Linked DNA regions of Homo sapiens: region 1 is linked to region 2. The links are contacts of gene promoters, found by promoter capture Hi-C in human tissues and cell types (Jung and others, 2019). All regions are on one chromosome and are shown on one strand. Each heading gives the region's core, a stretch centred on a gene start or on the middle of the fragment in contact. The rest is flanking DNA. Distances are from core to core; before and after follow the strand shown. Region 1 has its middle 260 kb from the start of CBLN1. Region 2 holds the start of CBLN1 (cerebellin 1 precursor).

Region 1 (6,743 bases), core at 325-2,824, 260 kb before region 2:
TGTGCTAGAGACCCTTCCCAACTGGGTGTTCAGTGAAGTTGTGTCAGGAGCTTGGACACTACATTGGCCATAGTGGGTGTATTTACTTCATGAAAATTGGCAAGTGCTACATATCAAGGATTTTTATTTTGAGAGCCGGTTGTTACACATTTATCAGCGCACTTACTGTCTTCAGCCCCTTTAGACAGCCTGCAGGAAGACTTCTCACCAAGGGAACTTCCTTCCTTCCTGAGTTTCCCCCGATGACTTCCAGACCTATGTGCTTTAGGGAAGGTGTTCCATTGCCCACTGCCAGCTTTCCTGCCTGGCTTTCCCCCGGTGGGCTTCCATGAATGCAGATACAGAGTCGGGAGAGAGAAGGGAAACGGGCACTTGCTTTTAAGGACTACGTGTTCGTGGCAGGCCAGAACAAATTGCACAAAGGCTAGATTACTTATGTACTATTAGGAAGATCGTTAATATCAGGGTGTTAAAATATGTAAATAGCATAAATATGCCCCACATCCTAATTACTGTTTTGCATGATCAAGTCATTTACTCTTTATGACATTTTATGATTGTTCAGCTGTGTCAGCGAACACTTAGCACAACCTCCTACCACAGATGATGAAGCTATGGAGTTTTCCCAGTTTCCTGGCCAGGAACAGCGGGGTGGGGGTGGGGGCGGCATCAAGGCAAAACAAAGCCTCCCTGTCCCTATTCCAGGTGCCTCCACTGTGGAGGAAGACACCCATTGTTGGAGATTCTTTTTGTGTGAGCAACATATGTTCCTGCTTCCTGGCATTTTCCCCAATGTTCTGTAATACCGATTCTGGTGGAGGCAGATTTATATGCAGGCTAATGAGAGCTGACATTTCTTGTGCTGGTTGCTACATTTGCTGTGTTGATTTAACGCAGTGCAGGTTCAACCAACCGCAAAGCAAGTTTCCCTGAACCTTTCTGTAAAGCAACTTAACAGTCACGATTGGAGAAGCTGCCTGCTCCGTGAAGCACGGTGACTTTCGGGATATCCAACCAGGATCCCAGAACGGATTTCTGCCTGCTCTTTGGGCTTTCTGCTCAGCTTCAAAAGAAGCTTCTCGCTGGCATGGAAGTGTTTGAATTTGATGGCCACTTTGCTTTTTTTGAAGAGTTAGTTTAAACCAGAGGTCTCACCTGGGTGGCATAAAAACCAGTTACTGTTCATAGGCATATTTTGTTTGGCTCTCACGGTGTTAAAAATGATTTTATTTGCCAATTTTAAAAAATCGGGACATTTCACATAAAATTTAGATTTCTGGCTTCTCTGAAAAAATACAAAGGTCTGGAAATGATTGCCTGACATTAACACGAGGCAACCTCCAACTGGGGGCGTAGGCGTGCATATAGCAGAGTGGGCAGGATATAGCTTCGGACTTCATTCAGATGGCCTGGGTTCAAATCCAAGCCCCACAGCTTAATTGCTGTGTGACTTTGGGCCATTTACTTAGCTTCTCTGTGCTTCAGTCTCTTTATCTATAAAAAAGGAGATAGCCCCCATGGCACTTAGTTATAAGCACTAGAACAGTGTCTGGCACTTATTAAGAGCCGTTTAAGATTTATTCATTATGATGAACAGCTACTGCCTTTAGATGGGGCTTATGCATGTCCTGTGTGAAACCCTGGAAGTTTCCTGAGTTAAGACACAAGATGTGAAGCAGAGACTACCTTGTGGTGAGTCTCATGAAGCTTCCAGCTATCAGTAATATTGAGGGTGCGGGATTTGGGGTCCTTCTGCACAGCCGGAGAGGAAGCAGGAGGAAAAGGGAACATCCTAAGGTTCTCCTTGCATTTTTACCATCAACTGTTTACAGCAGTCAAGGTCCAATGTATTCCCCCAAATGACAGGTTCACAGAGCTCACATCTGCATACTGGAGATTATTAAAGATAGGGTATTGCTGGCAGGAAGAAGGGAACGGAGAGGTGAATGGAAACAATTTCCATTAAAATGGAGTTTGGAGACAAAAGGCACATGGAGAACTATTTTAAGCCTAAGGCAGGTGACGCTGGATTCAAAATTTAATGAGCCTTAAATGCCATTGGATGAATATAGCCGGAGACACATGGTTACATCAGAAAGGGCCCACACAGTTGCATGCTTTCCCACAATACTCCATTTTTTTAAAGGCTCCTTAGAACTAACAAGCTAAACCTCAGTCAAATGAGGAGTCATAGTCATTTGCAGGTAAGTGATCTTTCAGCTGCACAGAGAGAGGTACCCTACTTGGCTGCTGGGGAGCCGGCGGTGACTCAACCTGGGCGTGGGGACACAGACTTCCATGCTTGCGGGAAGGTCCCCTGGCAGATCGACCATCTGCAAGTGCCCTCCATGTTTCCTGGATTTCCAGGTCTTATGCCTCCTCTCCCCCAAGCCCTCACTGGGACGTACCCTTGGCTTCGCGGCGGGGTGGGTTTGTCTGCTGTCTGGACAGTTGTGTTTCCCTGCAGGGTGCTGCTCAGTGGCTGGGCTCAGGTAAAGAGCTTGCATTTGTCCAATGCATAAACGGGGGAAGCAAATTCATTTCACAGCTGAGGTTGCCAGCCTCTGACAAGACCAGGGAACTTGGAAAAAAATGAAGCCCCCTGCTGCCTGTGAAATGCCTGTAAAATCAGATGCAAGAGCCCCCACAATAGCATAAGTTCCTAAGGGCCTTTCTGGCCTCCCCTGCAAGCCTGGGCAGCTTTCCACATGGACTGTAGCCATGGGAAACAAACATCCGGGGTCGGATTTTCCTGGATCAGTTATGGAGAAGGAGTAACAGAGGTGTCAGGGCTGACTAGAACCCTCTCCTGCCCCCTTCACGCTTGCTGACTCACACCCCTGCACCACTCCACTCTGCCAATTTCCTGCAGATCAATGCTGCACACACTTGCTCATGAAAATACTCATCTCCAAAGCTTCCGCTGTTCTCACCCCACTGTGCTGATTTTTGCCACACCCCTCCTGTCAGTATTTACTTAGTGTAGGACATTTTAACACCTATGCTAGCCTCAGCATCAGCCATAAAGCCTGTAAAATCACAGGTTTGAGGTGCCAGCTTTATTGTTTTCTACTATACATTAAAATCAATCCTAACCACGTGACAAATGTTTCTCTGCGTACCACCTAACATGATCCTGTGAACCACCTTTGCTGGAGGTATAATACTTCTGGGACACCATGCTGGAGGAAATGGGATGAACTTGTTGCTGTGGAAAATCCCGGAGGGGATGCAGCACAAGGTTTGTGGCTGAAGAGGACTTGAATTCAGACCCAAAGAATGAGAAAAGCAATCTCTTGAGGTGTGGTTGGGAGATGCATTCCACCCCCACCTCACCAAAAGACTTGACTGGTCTTTCAAGTTAAAGATAGCAAGCATTTTAGGCTTAGAAATCCAGACATGAAAATGGAAGCATAAAGAGAGAGGGGTGGGCTGAGAGACGGGCACTGGCTTTCATTTGGGAAGGAGGAAGGGGCATGTTTTGCAAAGTAGCTCCTGGGAGCTGGCAGGAGGGAAGGTTCATGCTGCCTTTGGAGCTGTTCTTCCTGGACCGCAGGGCCACAGAACAAAAGGTCTTAAGGCCTGAATTTGTGCGCTTTGGCTGGCATAAAAAAGGACCACAGGTCGGGTGGCTTAAACAACAGGACTTCATCTTCTCATAGCTCTGGAGGCTGGGAGGCCAAGATCAAGCTGTCGGCAGGGCTGGCTTCTCCGAGGCCTCTCAGGTAGGCTTGTAGCTGGCCACCCTCTTACCATGTCCTCATATGGTCTTCCTTTTGTACAGTCTACGTCCCAGTTTCCTCTTCTTACATGGGCACTGGTCAAAGTGGATGAGGGCCCACCCGAATGACCTCATTTAACCTTAATTACTTCTTTAAAGACTCTGCATCAATCAGATCACATTCTGAGGTATCTGGGGTTAGGGCTTCAACATATAAATTTGGTGGGGTTGGGGAGTAGGGGCAGGGAGAAAAGTCAACTCATAACAAGGCCTTTAGAATCAAAAAAGAAACTGATGGGTTAGAACTCCAACTGCTGCCGCCAGTGATGGGAATTCTGGCTCAGCCTCAGGAGTTCAAGGAGAACAGGAACCTCCTGGCATCCAGGAGAAGCTTGTGTTTAGCCCTGTGGGATCCAGCGGGCTTCAGGGACTGGGGTCCTGGCTCCTCCTCCACAATAGGGGTTGGTGATACAGAGGAAAAATATCCAGAAGAATTAATGAGGGATCCCCTCTGGTATTTCCTATTATCTCACAACCCTCCCCACTGGGTCAGGAGACCATGGACCCTACAATCTTCAAGAGAGAGGTGTCACATTAGCATCGGAGGGCAAAGAAATCAGACTCATAACCCAAGGTTAAGGCTGAAGACGAAGACTTAGAAGCACACGTGACAGTTTCAGGCAGGTTTTGCTGCCCCAGAGGAAAATTCTCTAGTCTTGGACAGGAAGAGAAAAATTGGACAGGAATATAAAGAGTGACAAGGCCTGTGGTTTTCAGAAGGCCATGAGGCAGCCTCCCAGCACTTCTTGGGATTCCAGACTAAGGTTGGAGGGCGCCCATTCCTCCCCTGCCCGCTGCATGTGAGAAGAGCAGGCAAGTCACTGACAGCAGGAGCCGGGCTGGGAGAGGCCCAAAGGTCAGGAGTGAAGGGCGCTGCAGACACAACCCACGTGTTGTGACAGCCAAGAATCAGATGCATGATGCACTACTTTCAAGGACACCGGCATGGACACGTCACAACTGAGGACCAGACACTCCCACCCCCATCTCCCACTGCCTGTGAATCCTGCCCCCAGAACTTAGAAACGACCTTCGGGGAAGGGGAAATCTCAACTTGACTGAGTGTAAGTTTCCATTATCTGGTGGGATACAGACATAAATAATCATTGAAGTTTAATGTATCAGTTTTTTACCAATGCCGTAACCAATTCCACAAACTTAGTGTCTTGAAACAATACACATTCATTAACTTACAGCTCTGCAGGTTAGAAGTCTACATGACTGCTCCCCAGGGCTAACATCAAGGTGTCAGCAGGGATGTATTTCTTCTGGAGAGTCTAGGAGGGAATCTGTTTTCTTGCTATTTCCTGCTTCCTCCGGCCTCCCACATTCCTGGGCTCGTGGGCCCTTTCTCCAACTTCAAAGCTGGCAATGGCAGGTTGAGTCCTTCTCACATTGCATCACCTGAACATCCTACAAGGTCACATCTCTTTCTCTACCTCTGTTTTTCACTTTAAGAACCCTTGTCATAGGGCCCACCTGAATAATATTAAAGTAAGCTGATTAGAAACCTTAATTTCATTTGCAACCTTAAGTCCCCTTTGCTATGTGGTCCTGATCCTGGGAACGAGGACATGGACATCATTCAGGGACCATTATTCTGCTTGACACACTTAGTGAATGCACAAATAGACACATTCCTTGCCTCGCTGAAGTGGTGGCCTGAGATTTGTGGTTATGAACTGATGTGTCTGTTACAGGGACAAATTCTGGTTTTGAGGTTCAAGATGGGGGTCTGAGTTTTCATCCCTGTAGGATGCTGCTCTGAGAAGCATGGTCAGACCAACCACTGGGCCCAATCTTGGGAGTGAGACTGAACTCAGAAGTCACAGATTCTACAATCTTAGAACTGTAGAATCCATAACACCTCAGGCTGGAAGTGGTCAGGGAAGGCCACTGATCCAACCTGTCTCACCTGGGACAGGAATCCATCTATATTCTTATACTTCCATCTTCACCTCTACCATCAGCTCCAAGAGTTTATTGTTTCACTCCAAGACTGCCTCCCAAGTCAGCTGCCTGCCTCTGTTGTTCCCCTGCTGGTCATATGACCACACACTTGCCAGAGAGATCTTCTACAGGGGCAAATCAGATTATATCACTCCCTCACTCAGACCCCCCAAGGTTCCCCTTCCTGTTAGGTGGAAATCTAGACTCTGCACCGTGGCCCCAGTGGCCCACCTGGTGACTCACCTGTCTCCCTGACCTCATCTTCCACCACACTTCCCTTCTGTATGTTCTAGCAAACTTGGTTTTCCCTCTGTTCTTAGCCCATGTCAAGCTGGTTCTCATCTCCTGATTTGAGGGTTGTTGTTCCCCATACCTGAAAATGTTCTCTTCTAGGTATTTCCATGGTTCCCTTCCTTCTATGGGTCTCTGTTCCTTTGATGGGCCTTCCTCAGCCACCATCTACTCCCTTGTTAGTGTCGTTCATGGCCTGTACCACCAGCTTTCAACACATGACAGGTGTTTCCTCTTTGCTCTCTGTTTCCTTTTCTAGAGTATACATTTTCTGAATGCCAGGACTCTGACAACTTTATTTATCACTACATCCACTGTATCCATCACATTGCCTGGCACATAAAAGATGCTAAGTAAAGAATTGTTGAATGCATGAGAGAGTGACTCTCCCAGTGGGCCCCAGGGGCATTTAAGAAGCTCCTGTTGCCTGGGACTACTGCACTAAGCTATTAATCAATGAGACCTTTACTTCATTCAAAATTAGAGTAACCACTGAATGCATATCCATCATTAGAGAGCACTGTTCAAAATCAGTGGGCGGTGAGGACTTCCCAGAATAGGTAACTGGGAGATATCCGGCCTCCGTGAGTTTAGACAAGGCTCGCAGCATGAGCACTAATCACATGTCAGGATCATTGTCGGTACACAGAGGATAACAAAGACAGACAAGAGACAGCCCCTTCCCTCAAGGAAATTATAGACTGGTAGGAGAAGATAGACA
Region 2 (6,657 bases), core at 3,956-6,455:
GTGGGAGGCAGGGATCCTTTCCCAGGAAGGAGGTCTGCTGAACTACAGCAGAATCAAAGGAAAATCAACCCCTCTTCTTCGAATTTGGGGACAATTCACTCCCACTGTACTCACTTTCCAGGCTGCAGAGCTAGGGCTCAGGAATGAGTCCCAGTTCCAGGATGCACAGGCTTCCCCTGGCCTGCACCCTAGCCCGAGGCTTAGCACTCAGGAGCTGCCACTTGGCAGCCAGGTAAGCACAGGCTGCAGCCAGGACTCACTCACCCAGGAAAAAGAATCTGCAGACTCCCGGTCTGGGAGCAGAGGAGGGCTGGATCCACAGAGCAGGAGGAACTCTGAGAGGTGTTTAGATTTCTCCCTGTCTTTATATAAATGGGCAAATTTAGGACCTGATAGCGGACTTGCCAAAGTCACTCCACCGGGACACAGCCTGGTGGCCCCACAGAACAGGCAGCCACGGAGACCAGAACCCTGGTGGTTCTTGCCCTCAGGAAGAGAGGTGACCCACCCACCTGCAGCCCAGGGAGCGCCAAAGCGTACAGGGGCAGCTTCCTTGAGCGGTGGCTCTCCAACCTTCGCGGCCCTACAGCCTCAAGCTTACACGCACCCTACTGACTATAGGGTCTCCACAAGCCCGGAGGGCTGGCCCTGCAACGGCAGAGCTGCTGGGTGGAGCTAGTTTCGCTGCCAAAGGCTCCAACTGTCTCCGACCTCTCCTTCCCAACCAGGAGACTTCGGAGAAAGCGCGTCTCTTTATTAAAAGCAGTTTTTCTTTAAATCCCTTTAAGGCCCCTTATTTCTTCTCATTCACACTTCCCTGGGGCCTAACAGAGTAGAAGGGAAACTGTTGGGCAGAAACAGAAAAGTACTCGGGTCCACTCCTCACTCGCGAAGTCCCTATCTATCTCTGTGGGTCCCGGAGGCACAGGGCTGCAAGGGCGCCCGCTAGAGCTGCTCCACGGCTTACCGGATTGCATGCGGAGAAGAAACGGGCCCGGGTTTCAACAGAGGCCCCGTGCTCCGTGAATTTCTAACTCGAACCAGCCGCTGGGATAAATCCGAGAAACGTTGTTTATTGTGCTATTATTAACTTTCCCTTCTCCCCACGCCCCTAGAGGAAATAAAATTCATTCCTGAATATTGGGCCAGGAAAACGTTTCTCTGAAAGGAACCACAACTGCAGGGGACCACCCGGCTGCAGCTCCCAGCTCCCGGCCCTTCGCCCTAGGCTGCCCACTCGCTCCGGCTCCCGACCTCCCCGCTGCCGAAGCAACTGGGTCAGCCTTTCAGACTTAAAACGAAGTCGTTTATTTCATTTTTGCTTTCACATTATGTTCCGATACAATCAAAACTCCTGGACGAACCTCTTGAATAAAGTCCTGTGAATGAGCGGAATCATAGGTCCTGGGCGCCCGAGTATGCGGCGGGTGGACTCCGGATTCAGAGGCGGTGTATAAAACATACGCTGCTTCGGGAACTGCGAGGGGGACGCGGTGGGAGACATCCGGGGACAGAAGGCCTGAGGAGTCTGCCGCTCCAGGCAGGGTCGTTTGGGTCCTCAAACTGGGACTATTCCTGATGCATTTGGAATGCAAAGAAAAAAATCAAACTTCGCTCCTGGGCCGGCGGCCGCGCCTGGCCTAGCAAGATTTCGGCCACATTTCTTACGTTTCCGCCAAAGCTGTGAACACAGGCGAATGCAGTGCTGGTCCCCGGCCTGGCGCAGGAAGGAGCGCAAGGCCGGCTTTGCAAGGAAGCCCTCGCGCCCAGGCCTTTCTATGGTTGCGTTCCCCCAAGTCTCCTGCCTTTCGGAACCTCGCCCTTTGGCACCCCAGACCCCCAACCTCGCAGCTGGGGAAGATGCGGATTTTAGAAAGCTGTTTCAGAAAAATAAAAGTCCCACTTCGACTTTATTAGATTAAAGCAAAATTAAACCTTGACTATTCACACGTATGTTACAGAGGAAGAGGAGGCGTCCGGAAGAAGCTCCTTGGCGTTTCGTGGAGTCACAGAGCACGACGGCATTGACAAGCATCAGAACATCAAGCAGCCTTAGATTTCACGATCACTCCGAATAGAACATAGAAATACGGAAACACAGCCAGTTTCCACTGGGAAGAGTTCTTCGTATACAAATGATATATATTTATATTTTTTAAACCAGTCACCACTAAGGTGAGTCCTTTCTCTGCTAACAAGCAGCCGAGGATACTAAGTATCTTCAGCTAATTAATTTGAGCAGTGTTTTAAGAAGAGCAACACTTGCCAAATTAAAACTACCTTCCCCATCCAAAACAAAACAACAACAACAACAAAACTTTACCCCTTTCCAAACTGAAAAAAAAAAGGTTGGGGGTGTGTAATATATCAGATTTCAGTAGGCAGAAGGATTCAGAGGGGGCTAGGGAGAAAGATTTCAGATTATGTAGTGAAATACAAAGTTTCTTTAAATAAATTGCAGGGAACATGAAGTTGGGGGATAAGAAACAATGACAAGGCAGTCTCTTTCTTGATTACTGCAACTGGAATGGGGGAGGCGAGTTTATTTTTGGAAATGGGAGTGCGCAGAGCTAAGCGAAATTTATTTCTCCTAATAAGGAAATGGACAAAGTTGTCCCACAGCTGGCGCGCACCTTTTTACCCAGATACAGTTAGAGAACATGTAGGAAGTTTCAAGTCGTGCTGCTTTCTCGCCCTCTTAATTTCAGCCTCTTTCTCACTCCCCTTCCTGCCTTCGCCCTCTCCCTGCCTCCCTTCCGGCTACGAGCCAGTCAGAGAGGAAACACCAGGAATCCGGAGAAGGTCGAGTACTTCCAGCCCCCCATCAAGTTTCCCCGCTCCAGCTTGAGGTATGCTCGGTCGCCTTTCTCCATTTGGATTAGGACTCCGTTGCTGGCGGCCTCCCGGGTCACGTCCTGGTCACCAGCGAAGGCTGAAATCACCGGCCACCCGTTTAGCATGAGGCTCACCTGAGAAAGAGAAAGGCCCGCTTCAGAGGCGCAACCTAGGCAGGCACCGAAGCCGCGGTGGAGCGAACCTCCTCCTTGCTTGGCTAACAGCCTGTAAGGCCTGGAAGCACGGAGAGGTGGGGGGTGGGGGGGGCGAATGGAGGAAAAGGGGCTTTGCAGCTTACTGCTGAGGCTCCAGTGGGGCGAAAGACCACACATCTGGGTGACAGGAAGGGCCTGTCCCCAAAACGGGAGTTGCTCTTATTCCAGTTTCTCAAATGAGCGCGCCAAGCGAATCTCGACTGTGCTCTGTGATCCAATTTAATAAACCCATGAGGTGGCTCTAGCGCCCTGAGACCTTTGACCTCTCTCCCGTTTCCCCTCAGCCTCAAAAAACAAACAACAAACAAAAAAAACCCAGCAACTCAGGCTCCTTCTGGCGCTACCGGAAAAACAAAAACGAACAAACAAAAAGCCCCTGATCCCTCCTGGACCCAGCTGCCAGGACACAGTGGAGAAGCCACTGTGATTTGTGATTAGAAGTCTCGCACCGAGCGGCACAATGTATTTCCTCCCCAAACCACGGGCTCAATTCCCTCCCCCATCCAGCCGCGCCCGCCACCGCCTGGTTTTGCCCCTGTGGTGGCACCGTCAGCCAAGGGCCTCGCGCCCTCTCCCCAGCTGTGCGTCCCACCTCTCTCGGCGCCCAAGGGAAACCTGGACATCTTTGGGGACCCGGAGAGCCGGCGAGTGATTGCTGGGACACGGCTGGAGCCGGGAGAGAGTAGCACTACGCCCCCTCCCTCCCTCCTCTCTCTACCCCTCACCCTCCGGGGCTAAATGCTGCTAGCTCAAAAACCCACAGTCCGCACGGGGTGGGGATTGGGGACAAGTGGGAGAAAACGGGGGCCCCGTCCGTGGTGCTGAAGACAAGCACGCAAGCCGCATCGCAGGCTTCTGAGCCGGGGCAAGGGGTAGGGTGTACTGTCGCGGTGCTTCCTGGGGAGTCCGGGAAGGCTTCCCAAGCGGCAGCTGTCTGGGGCGCTAACAACAGCCGTTACAAGGAAGTCCCTGAAATCCAGGGAACCCTTCGGAGAGGCCCGGAAGGCAGAAGCAGAAAATTCTGTCTCTCGGGGGATGGGGCTGGATCCCAAGAGCCAGAGACAGGGAAAGCAGAGGACAGTTGAAGCCACAGAACTGAGAGGCCCCGCTATCTGTCCCTCCAAGCAGCCCGAAGTACATGCAGCCGCCACTTCTGCCTACCACCTCCGGACAGCCCGAGCACCCCTGAGGCCAGTAACCCCCCTACGGGGCCAGGGCCCGGCACGAGGCGTCGGCTGACCTGTATGGTTTGTCTGTTGTAGACTTTTACCACGTGGAAGTTAAAACTGTAGATCCCTTTGCGCGGGGCGATGAAAGTGCTGCGTTCTGAATCAAAGTTGTTCCCAATGTTCACTAGTACCTATAACGAGACGGGAACGAAGGGGAGTGGGCAGGAATCGGTCCCGGACTGTCGTCCCCGCGCCTCCGCAGAGCCCTTGGAGAGGACCGGGCATCGGTCTTCCATCCATCCCTCCTTCACCAGCCCAATCTGCACGCCGCGGGAGGAAGGAACACTCACCTGGTCGAAGTAGATGATCATGGTGCGATTACTCATCTCGGACGGCTCGTGGTTGGTGCTCCTGATGGCAGAGAAAGCCACCTTGGCGCTGCCAGAGCGCACAGAGATGCCCAGGGCAGTGCCCGTGGGGTCGGACGTGGGGTTGGAGTCGCACACCACCAGGCACTTGCCCTCCAGCACGATGGGCTCCGTCTCATTCTGCCCGCGGGCCGGGCCCGCCAGCCACGCAGCCCCCAGCAGCAGCAGCTCCAGGACGCCCAGCATCGCGCCGCCGGCGCCCACCCCGCCCCCCACCCCCAGGGCTGCTCGCGCCAGCCGCCCCCCCCGTCCCAGTCCCGCTCCGAAGCCCCCTCCTCAGCTCCGTGCGCAGCTCCGCCGCCGCCGCTCTGGACACTACACCTCTTCCTCGCACTCCGGGACTAGCGTCCCCTCCGCGACTAGCGTCCCCTCCGCGCTGTGTTCCCGGAGCCCCTCCCGGGCCTCAGGGGTGCCGCGGCTGCCCAGCCGCACTTGGATGCATAGCCGCTGCTGCTCGGTCCCGCTGCTGCCGCCGCCTCCTGCCCGCACCCGCCGCTGCCGCCGCCGCCGCCGCTCTGAATTATTGATGCAGCCGGCGCTGCAGCCGGAGCGGGCGGAGAGCGCGCGCCGGGCACAAAGGCGCGGACCTCGGCCTGGCCCCGCCCCCGCCGCCTCCCGGCCCGCCTCCCTCCGAGGCCCTGCCCCCGCCCCGGCCGAGGCCACGCCCCCCAGCCAATCCTGACGCGCCGCGCTCCCCACCGAGCCAATGGCGGCGCTGTCCGCGCTCGGCCACCTGACCCCGGGCGCCGTTGTTATTAGGCGCGGCGAGGCGGGTGGCGCGCGGCAGCAGGGTTGGGCTCTCGCCGTGAGTCGACGAAGGGAGCGCGGGCGCGCGCCCGCGTCCGCGCACTGAGAGTCGCCTCGGCCGCTCGCTTTCTCGACTCCCGCCTCGCGCCTCGATCCTGTTCCGCCTCCCTCGGCCCTCCTGCCCGCCCCCACTCGTCGGCCCTCAGGTAGGAGGCGGCGCGCCCCGGGGTCGGGAGTGGAATCGCTGGAGGCTGCGAGTCGCCTGCCCGCCTGTGGGCGCGCCCGTTGGGAGGGGAGCGCCCCCCAGCGGGCGCGGGCGCGAGGGCAGCCGGCGCGCTGGGCGAGCCTGGCTCAGGGTCCCGGCGGCCGGGGTGCAGGGCGCGTGCGCGCGCGGCGGGGCGGGGCCTGCGCGGCTCTGGCGGGCGCACGTGGTGCCCGGGAGCTGCTGGGCGGGCACTCACCGCGGGGACTCGGTGCGGAGCCGGGGCGCCGAGTGTCTCCGTGTCCCTCTGCCCCAGCCGGCGGCCGCGATGGTGGAGCTTGGCCTCTCGCTCTCTCCCGCCTCTCCAGCGACTGCTCTGCCGGCCGCGGAGGTCGGATCGAGCGGTCATTCATTCATTTGTTAATTCGTTCACTTATTCAGGGGAGATCATTGAACCCCTACGGAGTACCGGGTACTGGGCCGGGCGCTGAGGACGCGGGGCTGAGCAAAAGCAGCCGAGGCCCACCTTCGTGCCCCTTAAAACCCAGCGTGCGGGGCGGCAACGAGTACTGCTTTTCTGTTTTGCACTTAAAATTTACATTTTGCATCCGTACTTTTTATTTACTGTGCACCCTTACGGCATGCTTTACGCACCCGTACCTGCACCTCCTAGCCTTGAGTGTAGACACCAGATCCTGAGATGGGCGATTTTTCGAGAATAATTTTTACCCTAAGTGGATTTTCGTGCCACGCATGGACTTGGAACTACACACACGTAGTCCAAAACGTGAAAGTCAAAATGCAGCTTTGCCAAGTGGCAGGGAGAAAGGAGAGCTGAGAAGATGAGGAGAGGAAGGGCGCGCTCCAGGCTTTCCAGCCCGGGTGCGGTAGACGTAGCCCTGAAGGATGAACCCAGGCTGGTAGTAGGGCGGCGGGAGGGCGGGGGGACCTGTCAGTCAAGTCCAAAGCAGAAACGCGGCGCCGGATCCCAGTCAGAGGCCGGCTGGAACGCTTCCCACAGGCTCCTGGCGCTCCGGTCCCCACCAGGCGACCTTGATCCT

Evidence for each region. The method cuts DNA at HindIII sites, captures the fragments that hold promoters and counts their contacts. A contact is called where the count stands out against the background at its distance.
Region 1: a contact is called between a fragment that was not itself captured here and the fragment with the promoter of CBLN1 in region 2, in 2 of the 25 tissues and cell types used here (dorsolateral prefrontal cortex and lymphoblastoid cells).

The regions. Positions count from the first base shown.
Region 1 is chr16:49,020,484-49,027,226 of GRCh38, forward strand. No RefSeq gene overlaps it. Among named protein-coding and RNA genes, the nearest start is that of CBLN1, 260 kb to the right of the region's middle. The HindIII fragment of the contact is 3,880 bases long and covers 1-3,514 here.
Region 2 is chr16:49,276,633-49,283,289 of GRCh38, forward strand. It overlaps CBLN1 (cerebellin 1 precursor), which reads right to left and starts at 5,206. Exons shown (of 3, transcript NM_004352.4): 1 at 4,570-5,206; 2 at 4,291-4,410; 3 at 1,285-2,969. The coding sequence starts at 4,833. The coding sequence ends at 2,772. SYNAGE (synapse stability regulating cerebellar lncRNA) reads left to right here and starts at 5,430. Exons shown (of 4, transcript XR_933530.4): 1 at 5,430-5,600. RefSeq lists enhancers at 1-127, 1,181-1,707, 1,708-2,232, 4,310-4,927 and silencers at 5,280-5,389, 5,760-5,859. The HindIII fragment of the contact is 18,550 bases long and covers 1-6,657 here.